Regions from separate parts of the Homo sapiens genome. Here regions 1 and 2 are each linked to region 3. Evidence: promoter capture Hi-C in 16 types of primary human blood cells and fetal thymus (Javierre and others, 2016). All regions are on one chromosome and are shown on one strand. The core of a region is centred on a gene start or on the middle of the fragment in contact, and the rest is flanking DNA. Distances in the headings are between cores, read along the strand shown.

Evidence for each region. The method cuts DNA at HindIII sites, captures the fragments that hold promoters and counts their contacts. A CHiCAGO score of 5 or more calls a contact.
Region 1: a contact is called between a fragment that was not itself captured here and the fragment with the promoter of PIGO in region 3, in 12 of 17 cell types (naive B cells, naive CD4 T cells, total B cells and 9 more). The highest score is 12.0, in naive B cells.
Region 2: a fragment that was not itself captured here is called in contact with the fragment with the promoter of PIGO in region 3 in 11 of 17 cell types (M1 macrophages, naive B cells, total B cells and 8 more); the score reaches 8.9 in M1 macrophages.

Annotation. Positions count from the first base shown.
Region 1 is chr9:34,905,085-34,909,008 of GRCh38, forward strand. It overlaps a transcript of PHF24 not described here. Among named protein-coding and RNA genes, the nearest start is that of SPATA31F3, 11 kb to the left of the region's middle. The HindIII fragment of the contact is 3,602 bases long and covers 530-3,924 here.
Region 2 is chr9:34,887,244-34,891,344 of GRCh38, forward strand. It overlaps SPATA31F3 (SPATA31 subfamily F member 3), which reads right to left. Exons shown (of 5, transcript NM_001309427.2): 5 at 1,823-2,389. The coding sequence ends at 2,121. It also overlaps a transcript of PHF24 not described here. Among named protein-coding and RNA genes, the nearest start is that of SPATA31F3, 6.5 kb to the right of the region's middle. The HindIII fragment of the contact is 1,939 bases long and covers 1,727-3,665 here.
Region 3 is chr9:35,095,341-35,099,384 of GRCh38, forward strand. It overlaps PIGO (phosphatidylinositol glycan anchor biosynthesis class O), which reads right to left and starts at 1,251. Exons shown (of 11, transcript NM_032634.4): 1 at 815-1,251; 2 at 1-226. The coding sequence starts at 225. It overlaps PIGO-AS1 (PIGO antisense RNA 1), which reads left to right and starts at 964. Exons shown (of 2, transcript NR_186491.1): 1 at 964-1,080; 2 at 2,420-2,804. RefSeq lists an enhancer at 918-1,257. The HindIII fragment of the contact is 7,045 bases long and covers 1-4,044 here.

The DNA of each region.
Region 1 (3,924 bases), core at 1,081-3,580, 190 kb before region 3:
TCTTTTTAGTTTAGTTACAGTGGATCCATCCCAAAGAAACCACTTGGTTCAGAGAACCTTGACAAAATGGAGCCTGCCTATAAAGCTGAAAGCTGGCTCCTGGTTCTGATTCCCCTCGTTAGTCTCCACCCTCCTGACCAGCTGCAGAGGCAGGGAGGGCAATCCTAAACACCAGACTACTGGCATGACCACAACCTGACCTCCTACCAGAGGAGAACAAGCACCCCCATTTCTCATCTAAGCCGCCTTCCTCTCCTGTGCTTTAGTTTTTTCCCTGTTAGCTAAAAGTGGTGTTCATTAAAACCTATTTGTTGAATAAAACACTGTAGGGGATATAAAAGTATGTAGAAGTGAATTCTGATAACTTAAAAGTTACATGCTTTCAGCATAGTGGGAAATAATAGGTATCTATACAATAATACGGTATCTGAGAGTATGTGGTATATAATCTCCTTATAAATATTATATAAAGTTGCTATATAAATCTCCTGTAAAGGGGAGATTATTTTTGGCTGAAGTGATCTGGGAAAGCTTCATGTAGAAGATGGCATTCAAGCTGGTGCTTGAAGCTGAGAGAGGATTTTAATATGTGGAGTTGGAAGAGGGAGTGATCCAAAATGCAGGAATCAACATGCATAAACTGCTGGTGTCTCTGTGTAATGATAACATGCAGAAATAACAGAAGGATTCCTGAAATATTTATTTTACTCTGAGTGCATTTTATTTTGTATATATTTGATCTTAATTAACTGAGTTTTAGATTTTATTTTGTCTTCGTGTGGAAACTGGGGTTGTGGATATCTCCTCATGGGAATGTTTTTCTGTGTCACGTGGACATGAACTGTGGAGATGGGTCTTCAGAACCTGACCATATGTGTTTCTAGGTATAAACGTCTGTGTGGGTGCATTTCTCTACACAGATTTTTTGGTCTTTGTGGGTGTGTGCACATGCAGTCCTGAGGGTTGAGAAGGAAAGACAGGAAGGATTAGAGGGGAGAAACAGGGAGGGGGGAAAGGAAGTGAGAAGTTGTTGAGGGTGTTGGGGCTGTTAGTGGAAAAAAATAGACTCTGAAAATATTTTAAAGAGGTTTATTCTGAGCCAATATGAGTGACCATGGCCTGGGTAACATAGTCTCAAGAGGTCCTGAGAAAGTGTGCCTGCCTCAGTTGGATTACAATTTGGTTTTATACATTTTAGGGAGGCAGAAGTTACAGGCAAGGTCATAAATCAGTACATGAAGGGTATACATTGGTTCAGCCCAGAAAGGCAGGATGTCTTGAAGCAGATCTTACACGTTATACATGGATTGAGAGATTCTTTAATTTACAAGTGGTTAAAGGTGTAAAGTTTTGTCTAAAAATTTGGAGTCAGCAGAAAGGAATCTTAAGTTTCATTGTGCTTTGACATGGTGCTTCCTTCCTGATGCTTTGACATGGTGAGGCCTTAAAAGCTGCCTCAGAATGCAGGTGAATCGCTTGAACCCAGGAGGCAGAGTTTGCAGTGAGCCGAGATCACGCCACTGCACTCTAGCCTGGGCAATGGAATGAGACTCCATCTCAAAAAAAAAAAAAAAAAAAAGCTGCCTCAGAATCAAGATCCCTAACCCTAACCCCTAACTCTTTTATTCCCCCCACTCAAAGTGCAGGGAGGGACTCTCTTGGAATTTCCTTATCTAAACAAGTAACTTTGTTTCCAAAAGAAATGCAATGCAGTTGTCTGAAATCCCCTCCATAGGGATTCAAATAACCAGGAAAGATCAACCACTGGAGAAGAGAAGAAATTGGGTGTCATCACCACACCCAGACACACTATTTTTAAAGAGAAGACTCTTGCTCTGTTGTCCAGGCTAGAGTGCAGTGGTGTGATTATAGCTCACTGTAGGTGAGCACCACCCCACCCCTCTAATTTTTATTTTATTTTCATAGAGACAGGTTGTCTACTATATTGCCCAGGCTGGTCCCAAACTCCTGGCCTCAAGGGATCCTCCCTCCTTGGCCTCCCAAAGGGCTAGGACTACAGTTGTGAGCCACTTTGCTGATCCAGATTTTTCATCTGTTCTGCTGATGGTAGCCCCAAGAGATCACCCAGGGAACTTTATCTGTGTAGGACAACCTTTGTTCCCGTGTAGCTCTACCTCTCACTTTCCCTTAACGTAGGCCTCCCAACTCCTGGGTCCATTCATTCTCCCTAATGACTTACTGCCCCTCAAAGGAATTGTTGACATTCCTTATTTCCTACTGTCCATGAAAAAGGATATGTAAATTTCTGTACCACACTGGGTTATTCAGTAATAATTACTCTATTAATCATCCCCTCCCTCATGCACATTAATAAACTTGTATGCCTTTTCACCTATTAATCTGCTTTTTGTCGGTTGATTTTCATAGACCCTTCTAAAGGTGAAGGGACATTTCCCCTTTGCCACCTAGAAGGGGAACCTCTGCTCTGAAGACGAAGTGTGGTTTCATATAGTTAGTATTTTACATAATTGATAATTGATTGTCCCGTAGATCACAGATACTCCTTTCCTGTAATACAACATTTATCGGTAAAAGGCTAGTGCTTCAAAATGCCATCTTTTCTTTCATCCATTGCACTCTATCTCTTTTCATTGGTCCAGTCTTTCATCCAATTTAATCCTCTTTTTGGATTGTCTTTGTTTAGTTTTTTTTCCCCTTTTTCTTATCCTTCCAGTTTGATTTCTTTCTTCGCTGTAGTTTTGGGGTTTTGTTTTTTGTTTTTTGTTTTGTTGCTTTGTTTTGTTTTGTTTCCCCCAAGATGGAGTCTTGCTCTGTCACCCAGGCTGAAGTGCAGTGGCATGATCTCGGCTCACTGCAACCTCCACCTCCCAGGTTCAAGCAATTCTCCTGCCTCAGCCTCCCGAGTAGCTGGGATTACAGGTGCCCGCCACCACACCTGGCTAATTTTTGTATTTTTAGTAGAGATGGGGCTTCATCATGTTGGTCAGGCTGGTCTCGAACTCCCGACCTCGTGATCTGCCCGCCTCGGCCTCCCAAAGTGCTGGGATTATAGGCGTGAGCTGCCACACCCGGCCTCTTCACAGTAGTTTTCACCTGCTGTAAGTTTTCTCTTCTAGCTTATGGAACTAATACCATACCCCAGAAACAAATGTTTTGTAATTGAGGAAGGGGCACTTCTTGTTGTAAGGATATTTTAGGCTCCATTTAAGGCTTTTGTCTTCACTGCCACTGCCATAGACAATTCATTGATCCCTCAAATTTAAATTGGGTACATTTGTTTATGTGAAAGGCATTGTTATAGTCAAGACGGAAACAGAAAAAAAAATCCCTCTGGGAGCTTTCATTCTAGTGGAAGGAGAGAGAAAGCAAACAAATAGGAAAATATGTAGTATGTTAGATGGTGATAAGTGCAGTGGAGAAAAATAAAGAAGAGACTAAGTCAAGAGTATAAACAAGATTTGTCATTTTTAATAGGTGGCAAGGGGAGGTCTGAGAAGATGATATTGGAGCAAAGACCAGTAGGAGATAAGGGAGCAACTCATGCATGTCTCTGGGAAAAGGGAACAGGAAACATCTATAGGGAGAAGACAGGTAAAGATCCAATAAGACAGTCCCTCAAGCCAGTACACAAGGGGTTGAGGACTTCAGAAAGCCTCCATAGTATGGTGTCCTTTGGACAGACTTTGTCTCGGGTCACCACTTCAAATCCTTATAAGGACTTCTTTCTCAATCTTATTTTATCTTACCTCATCCTTTTTTTCTTTTCTTTTCTTTTCTTTTTTTTTTTTTTTCTTTTTTTGAGACAGAGTCTCACGTCGTCGCCTGGGCTGGAGTGCAGTGGTGCGATCTTGGCTCACTCCAACCTCCACCTCCCAGGTTCAAGCAATTCTCCTGCCTCAGCCTCCCAAGTAGCTGGGATTACAGGGTGCCTGCCACCATGCC
Region 2 (4,101 bases), core at 1,446-3,945, 210 kb before region 3:
TACAACTAATCTCCCTGCTTCTACTCAAATCTATACCCCCAATGCTCTTATTTTTAGCACTATGACCTAAGTGATCCTTTAAGACATAAGTCAGATCTAAGCAGACCCCCTAATAGCTCCCCAATTTACTCAAAGTAAGAGCCAGCTTCCTTGCTGGCTTTCTACCAGGCCTTATACCATGTGGCCCCTTACCACTGGAGTCATCCTCTACCACTTTCTCCCTTTATTCCTTTATTACTCTGCTTTAGGTTCACTGGCTTCCTTGTTCCTTCTGACAGGCTGGGCATCCTCCAACCTCCAGGCATCTGCATTAGCTGTAATTTCTGACTGGAATGCTCTTCCTCGTTTACCCACGTGGTTTACTCGCTTATCACCCTCAAGTCCTTGCTGACATTTTAATTTCCTAGTGATACCTTCCCTGAGCTCCTTATTTAAAACTGTATCCCTTTTGAAGTCTTCTCTAATCCCATTACCCTGATTTTTTTGCATATATCTGGTCACCTTCTATATACTATGTTTTTTATTTATACTTCTTTTCTCTTCCTCCCAGGCATGCTCCCAACGTAAGTTCCTTGAGAGAGCAGATTTTTTTTTCCTCTTATGTTCACTGCTGTATTCCCAGTGCCTATAAAAGTGCCTGGCATATAATAGGTGCTCAATATTTATTGAAGGAATGAAGAATGGGTGAAAGAATGCCATTCATTCTCCAGCTTGGCAACCTCATTCTGATCCCTTAAACATTTTACTGTGTTTTTTTTTTAATTATTATACAGGGGTTTCTCCAGTGAGTCACTATTCTCTGACACGGCATGCTGTTGTTTGATGCCATGCCTCTGTTCATGTTGTACTCTCAGCCTGGGAAAGCCTCTCTACTCCCTACCTCCTTCCCAACTAATGCCTGCTCATCCTTTAGAACTCAACTTACATATCATCTCTTCTAGGAAACTTTCCGTGAACATTCCCCAAAACTAGATTAAGTGCCCTCCTATGTACTTTCATCTTATTGCTTCTAATGACTTTTTATATGACTGTCTATCCCAGAGTTCATGAGCTTTTTCAGACAAGGCCTGTGTATCGTTCACTGTTATCTCTGTAGTGCCTGGCATAGTGCCTGCCACATAGCAAGTACTTGAATATTTGAATTGTTGAATGCAAGACTCAGCCCAAAGTTGTTTTTATTGTGACCCTTTTAGGGATCTCTTCATCAACTAGTCTTCATTCTAGGCAGCATTCTTTCCATGCAAATGAAAGGCAATGGAGGTTGGAACAGGCAACAGGACTAGAGTGGGCTCTCAGTTGGGTTACCCTTAAAGATCTCAGTAACAACAGAGAAAAGACAGGGAGATTCTATCATCTGGTTTTGACATCTGTCATATTAGCTGTGTGCTTTTGATAAACATTCCTAAAGGAAGGAGCACCATGGCACTCTAAAGGACCTTCCCTCCAGGTTGTCAGCATATACTGTATAGAAGTCATCAATGAATTTTGCCTGTGGGCCAAAAATGCATTAGATTCCTGGCCACTGCTTCTTATACTGTCGCCATGTCCACATTCCTCCTCTGAGCCCAACACACCATGGGACAATAGAATTCAAGCCTGACCTTTTCTTTCAATGCACCTAAAACAAGGGCCTTTCTTCTCTGTCAAGTCCCTTTATCCACATTCTAGGGTGGGGCTGGGAGGAGTCATGTGGAATGCTGACCCATCTGAAATAAAATGTGATTTAAGCTTCTATACCACATAAGAAGTACTTTTTAGGTCCTTTACTCTCTCTGTCTATCATATACCACATTGAAAATGAGGAGGCACAAACAGGTGGCTCTTTGCTTAAAGGTACAAAGTATATTTGGAGAATGCCCTGCTTCACCTGCATGTTAATGGAAATGGCAATGAAAGCCTTTTTCAGGGGATTGCAGAGGTTCAGGAACCTATGAACTCCTTTTTCTTGTGATGGGTATTCTTGCATAAAACAGTGCCTTCTGCTGAGGTGAGTTAGACCTGGGATAGATTTCCTGGTTGAGTGGCACAAGTCATTTGAGGACAGAGTTTGGAGCATTTGTAGGAGTGGCACAGGACCCAGGATTGGCTGGACTGAAGGGAGTGTTGCTAGAGCAGATTATTTAGGCACTGGGGGCATCACAGAAGATCAGGCCTTCCTCCTCAGTAGAAGGAGGCTGAGCCTCAGGGTCCTCTGTTGTCTTCTGTGTTGTAGCTCCCCACACATGATCTTTGGTGACAGTTGGACTCTTCTCAATGTTTTTTGTCCTGTCTTGGGTCACTGTCTCAGCCTTAGAAAGGAGAATGGATTCCTCATGCCTTCGATCTTTCATTTCAGGGTTAATCCAGTGCAGAAACAGCTTCATCTTGTTATCCAAGCCAACTTCTGGAGCTTCTGGAAGGATGATGCTCTTGTGAGTATGGACTGCCCTTACCAGACCCTGCAACTCTTAGCCCTAGAAAGTGTGGCCCTGCAAATTTTGACCCTGCAAATTTTGCCCTGTAAAACATGGCCCTGAACTATTTGACCCTGAAAACTTTGGATCTGAAAAAAATTTACCCCTTCAAATACTGTACTTGCAAAATTTTGGCCCAGCAAGTAATGGCCCAGTAAGTTGGCCCTTTAAGCTCTGGGCACTCCCGGTTTGGCATTCTCAGAAATCCTTGTTTGGATGAGGTTATTCGGCTTACTCTAACAGCTTTGCAAATTATTCTTATCTGGTCCTTTTGCCCCAAGTAATCCTGGAGGATGCTCTTGGAACTCAAGGTTATGGAGAAGCTGGTGAAACAGCAATAGCCAGTACTGAGAGGATGGAAATGGGGCTCCGCAGATCCAGACAGATCCTTGCTAGTCTCTGCTCAAGGCAACCATCTTAGCTAAACTAAAGTTTTACCTAAGAAAGATCCTGGAGATATATTTGGCAAGTTGTGAGCTCTGGAGTTCTGCTTAGAAGTGCCCCTACTCGCCCCTGAACCTTGGCAGAAAGGGTGTTCTCTCTGGCTGGGGAGAGCTCCAGTGCTGTCCAGACACCCCCTTCTCTGTGATTTCCAGCTGCTTTGAATGTCATCAAATGTCACTGGGTCAACTGTTTTCTCTGCTGGGGTAGGGACTTGTCCTCACTTTTGCAAAGACCTGGTCTAAGGGGCTTAGGGCCCTCCAGGCTGGGTTGTTCACTCTAGCCTCCAGCTGAACACAAAGTACCTGGGCCTCTGTCATGTCTCCACTGGGTGTGAGATCCCAGAATCCCAGTGGGCATGGGGTACTGCTATGGAACTAGATCACTTGTAGCTCTGCTGCACTGTCTTTAGTTCAACGGCAAGCTGTTCTTTCAGTCCAACCCCTTCTGGATCTGGGGCCCATGGGATGCCTGGTGGGATATGAAGTTTCTGGAGTAATGTTTTCCCTTGGTTTAGCAATCTTTAGACTCCTAAAGGATCCCTGTGTGGAGATATTCTTTGGGATGGTGAAAATTTGTTCCCTGGATTCCCTTGTTTTTATGGGACTTCCCAAATGTATCTCAAGGAATTTATTTTTCAGGTAGAAATTTAGTTTGGCCAAGATGGGTGCCTTGAGTGATTAGGGGCTGTGAGGATCTGTCTGCCTCTCTAGCGGTACCATCTCCATCAGCTTGTGTTTTAGTGCAGAACACTTGTACGTTATCTACACAAGCTTCATTGGTGTTTTGAAAGCATGGCCCAGGACTTACACATTGCTGTTCAGATGAGATTGAGTCAGAGGCTCTGATGGGCTCAATCTGTGATTGTGGATTCGTGAGTGATTGCCTGGGCCACAGCCCTGGAAAGAGCCACATAATAGAGAGCAGGCAGCCCTGACAGAAGGGCCAAAACTTGTCTCAAGTTTCTCAGTGGCTTCCTGGGACAGGGTCTGGGCAGCTCAGGATCATCAGTAACAGCATCTGGCAAGCCCTGTTGCTGCTGATCAAGGCCTGTCAGTATTCAGAGTGTCCTTTCCTGATCTGTGTAGGGGCTGATATGTGTCACTTCCAGGTCCAGGTGTTTGCTTTTCAGAGGACAGGGGCGCCAAGTTGCTTCCCAGGCCTTTGGAATACTGCAGAACCAGTGATTTGTAGTCCCAACAATGGC
Region 3 (4,044 bases), core at 1-2,500:
TATCAGCACCAACACAACCCGCGAAAATCGGGAAGCCATCCAGCAGGCCCCAGGTTTCCCTTGGCTCCCCCATGGCAGGGACCCAGGGCCTGGGGGCTCTTGGCAGCTGCTATGGTTGGTGAGCTCCAAACGGGTGAGCAGGAAGCCACTGGTGAAGAGGGCAATGCCAGCGTAGAAGAGGAAGCAGACCCAGGCCAGGAAGAGCAACACTGAGGCTTTCTGCATCCTGATAGGGGTGGGGAAGTAAATTCATTACTGTGGGGCAAAGAACCAGTGGATATTCTGGTCCCTGAATACAAGCCCAGCTAGAATCACTTCCTCCCGGAAACCTTCCTGGAGATAAACCATTTCACAGCCAACCCCTCGCAATATTACTCTCCTCCTATTTCCAGGCTGGGCATGGTGGCTCACGCCTGTAATCCCAGCACTTTGGGAGGCCGAGGCGGGCGGATCACCTGAGGTGAGGAGTTCGAGACCAGCCTGGCCAAAATGGCGAAACCCCGTCCCTACTAAAAATACAAAAATGGGTGGCGGGCACCTGTAGTCTCAGCTACTGGGGAGGCTGACGCAGGAGAATCGCTTGAATCGGGGAGGCGGAGGTTGCAGTGAGCCGAGATTGAACCACTGCACTAGAGTCTGGACAACAGAGGGAGACGCCGTTTCATGAGGTCCCACCCCAGATCTACTGAATCAGGATCTTCGAGGGGTAGAGCATAGGAACGTTCACATGTACAGGCAGGAAATGCTAATGCTGCCTGTACATGTGAACAGTCAGGAGGGAAACTTATTCCAATTGGTAGTCAGGCTCTCTTACACGCCGTTTCTGCGCCTCTCCCCTCGCCAATCTCAATACCCAGTGGAAAGGGATCGAAGCCGCAGGGGAATCCGGGCCCAGCCGACGGCGCCGCCTGGCGGGCACCGAGGGGACGAAGGGGAGGAGTCACTCTCCGCTTCCGGGCGGCCAGGTTCGCCAGGAGACCTGAGGCACGACCTTCGCCACGCAAGGAGGCTGGGGCCCGGGTCGAGAGTCGACTGGGCCTCCGCTGGGACCCAGGCGTGCGACCGGCTCTGCCTCCTCCGGTAACTACCCAGCCTCCCGCTGGGCACCCTAGCCGCGGTACTGAGCACCTTGGTTAGGAGCTGAGGGGAAGAGGGAGACTCCCTTACTTCAGGGTGAGGGGAATACCGGGGGGTGAGGTTCTCGGGAGACCCTGGCTCACCTGCAATGGCACCCGGAAGTGCGGCGGCGGCGGCGCCTGCGACCTGGCAGCACAGAGATGCGTGCGCCAGACAGAGTGGCCCGTCGGTGGCTCCATCGCCATCTGCCGGCACCTCGGTGGAAGTTTGGCCAGGAGCGTGGGGCTGGCCCCAGTTTGATGGGATATTTAGTAATTGAAAATTGGGGACAGGGGACCAAGCTGGAGGAAGAGTTCAGGGAACCACTGTCCATTCATGGTTACGACTAAGAGCACGGCTGCTGGAGTCAAACTTGACTTGAATCCTAGCTTGGCCGCACATATTGTCATCATTAGGCATTACCTCATCTGTAAAATGGAGATAATACTTATTTTCCCTTTTTTGCTTAGCTGAGTCCAACTGAGATTTCATTACTCCTCCTTTCAAAGCCTGTAACTAAATCTTACGACTGAATAATTAAGCAAATAATCCTTCGGAGTGGAGGAGGGGAGGCTGGGCCCAGTGGTTCACACCTGTAATCCCAGCACTTTGGGAGGTCAAGGCAGGTGGATCACCTAAGGTCAGGAGTTCAAGACCAGCCCGGCCAATATGACGAAACGCCGTCTCTACTGAAAATACAAAAGTTACCCGGGAGTGGTGGCGGGCGCCTGTGATCCCAGATACCTGGGAGGCTGAGGCAGGAGAATCACTCGAACCCAGGAGGCAGAGGTTGCAGTGAGCCGAGATTGCACCACTGCACTCCAGCCTGGGCAACAGAGCAAGACTCCCTCTCAAAAAAAAAAAAAAAAATGCCAGGCACGATGACTCACACCTGTAAGCCCAGCACTTTGGGAGGCTGAGGCTGGAGAATCAGTTGAAGTCAGGAATTGGAGACCAGCCTGGCCAACATGCTGAAACCCCAACTCTACTAAAAATTACAAAATTTAGCCAGGCGTGGCGATGTGTACCTGTAGTCCCAGCTACTGAGGAGGCTGAGACTGGACAATTGCTTGAAGCCAGGAGGCAGAGGCTACAGTGAGCTGAGATCGTGCTACTGCACTCCAGCCTAGGCAACAGAGCAAGACTCTGTCTCAAAAAGAAACAAAACCCGTCCACTGGTTTCTCATCTCAGAGTAAAAGTTCTTGCATTGGCTCTACATGGCCCTGCACACTATCTGCCTCTTCCCCTTCTGATTCATCTAGCTGCCACTTCTTTGCTTCCCTAACTCTGTTCCATCCACAGCAGTTCTGCCTCAGGACCTTTGCATTTGCCATCTCCTCTGTCAGCTTCAGTTCCCGATGCCGAAATGGATCTCCATCACCTTCATATTGAAGCTCAACTGTAACATCAGCAAGGCTTCCTGCAATCCCCTACTTTACTAGTTCAGCACCTCCCACCACCACACCCCCTGGAAAAATTTCCCCTCACTTCCTTAATTTCTTCCATAGCACAACTCATCAGCATCTGAAATTCTACACGTATTTATGGTTTATCCCCTCCGAGTAGAATGTGAGCTCATTGAGGTCAGGGAATTCTGTTTTCTTCATGATATCCTCAGCACCTAGCATATATTTGAGGTTCACATACTGACCAAACGAATAAAGGAATATGTTAATTTTTAAAAAAAGTTGAGTTATTCTTCCACCTTCATCCCCATAGCCCCTTATCTCAGTTCAGACCTCATCCCTTCTCCAGGATCACTGAGGCAGCCTTCTCACTGTCCTCCCAGCCTCCTGTGTCTCCCTACTATCCCTTCTCCACATTGCAGCAAGACAGCTCTAACTAAAACATTAATGTGATTACTGTTATTTTTTTCTTTTTTGTAGAGATAGGGTCTTACCATGTTGCCCAGGCTGGTCAACTCCTGGGCTCAAGTGATCCTCCCACCTCAGCCTCCCAAAGTGCTGGGATCACAGGTATGAGTCACTGTGCCTGGCCAATGTGATGTTTTATCTTAAAATTCTTCATGGGAAGGGAAAAAAACCCTTCATAGGCCGGGCACAGTGGCTCACGCCTGTAATCCCAGCACTTTGGGAGGCTCAGGCGGGCAGATCACGAGGTCTGGAGTTCGAGATCAGCCTGACCAACATGGTGAAACCCTGTCTCTACAAAAAACAAAAAAATTAGCCAGGTATGGTGGCGCATGCCTGTAATCCCAGCTACTAAGGAGGCTGAGGCAGGAGAATTGCTTGAACCCGGGAGGCGGAGGTTGCAGTGAGCCGAGATCATGCCATTGCACTCCAGCCTGGACAACAGAGGGAGACGCTGTCTCAAACAAACAAACAAAAAAACCCTATTACCCTAGGGATAATGTCCAACCCCTTCAACAAGAATCTCATTCCTTGTGACTTGGCCCTTGCCATGTAGTCACATCCCCCTTAACACTATACCCTTCAGCCAACTTCTCTCAAGCAGTGAGCCTTTGTTTATTCTAGTCCAGGACCTGACTTGGTGAAAACTTGCTAACTTTTCCAGCCTGAGTTCAGTGGCAATCAGCAACGCTGCTACTCATAAGCTGATATGCTCTTCCCACCAAGATCCCTCAGCCAGAACTTTCCTCTACCACAGCATTTATCACTTTTTTTTTTTTTTTTAACAGAGTGTCTCACTGTTGCCAGGCTGGAGTGCAATGGCGTGATCACGGCTCACTGCAGCCTCCACCTCCCAGGTTCATGCAATTCTCCTGCCTCAGCCTCCCAAGCAACTGGGACTACCCGCACATGCTACCACGCCCAGCTAGTTTTTGTATTTTTAGTAGACGGGGTTTCACCATATTGGCCAGGATGGTCTCAATCTCCTGACCTCATGATCTGCACACCTCAGCCTCCCAAAGTGCTGGGATTACGGGTGTTGAGCCACCACGCCCG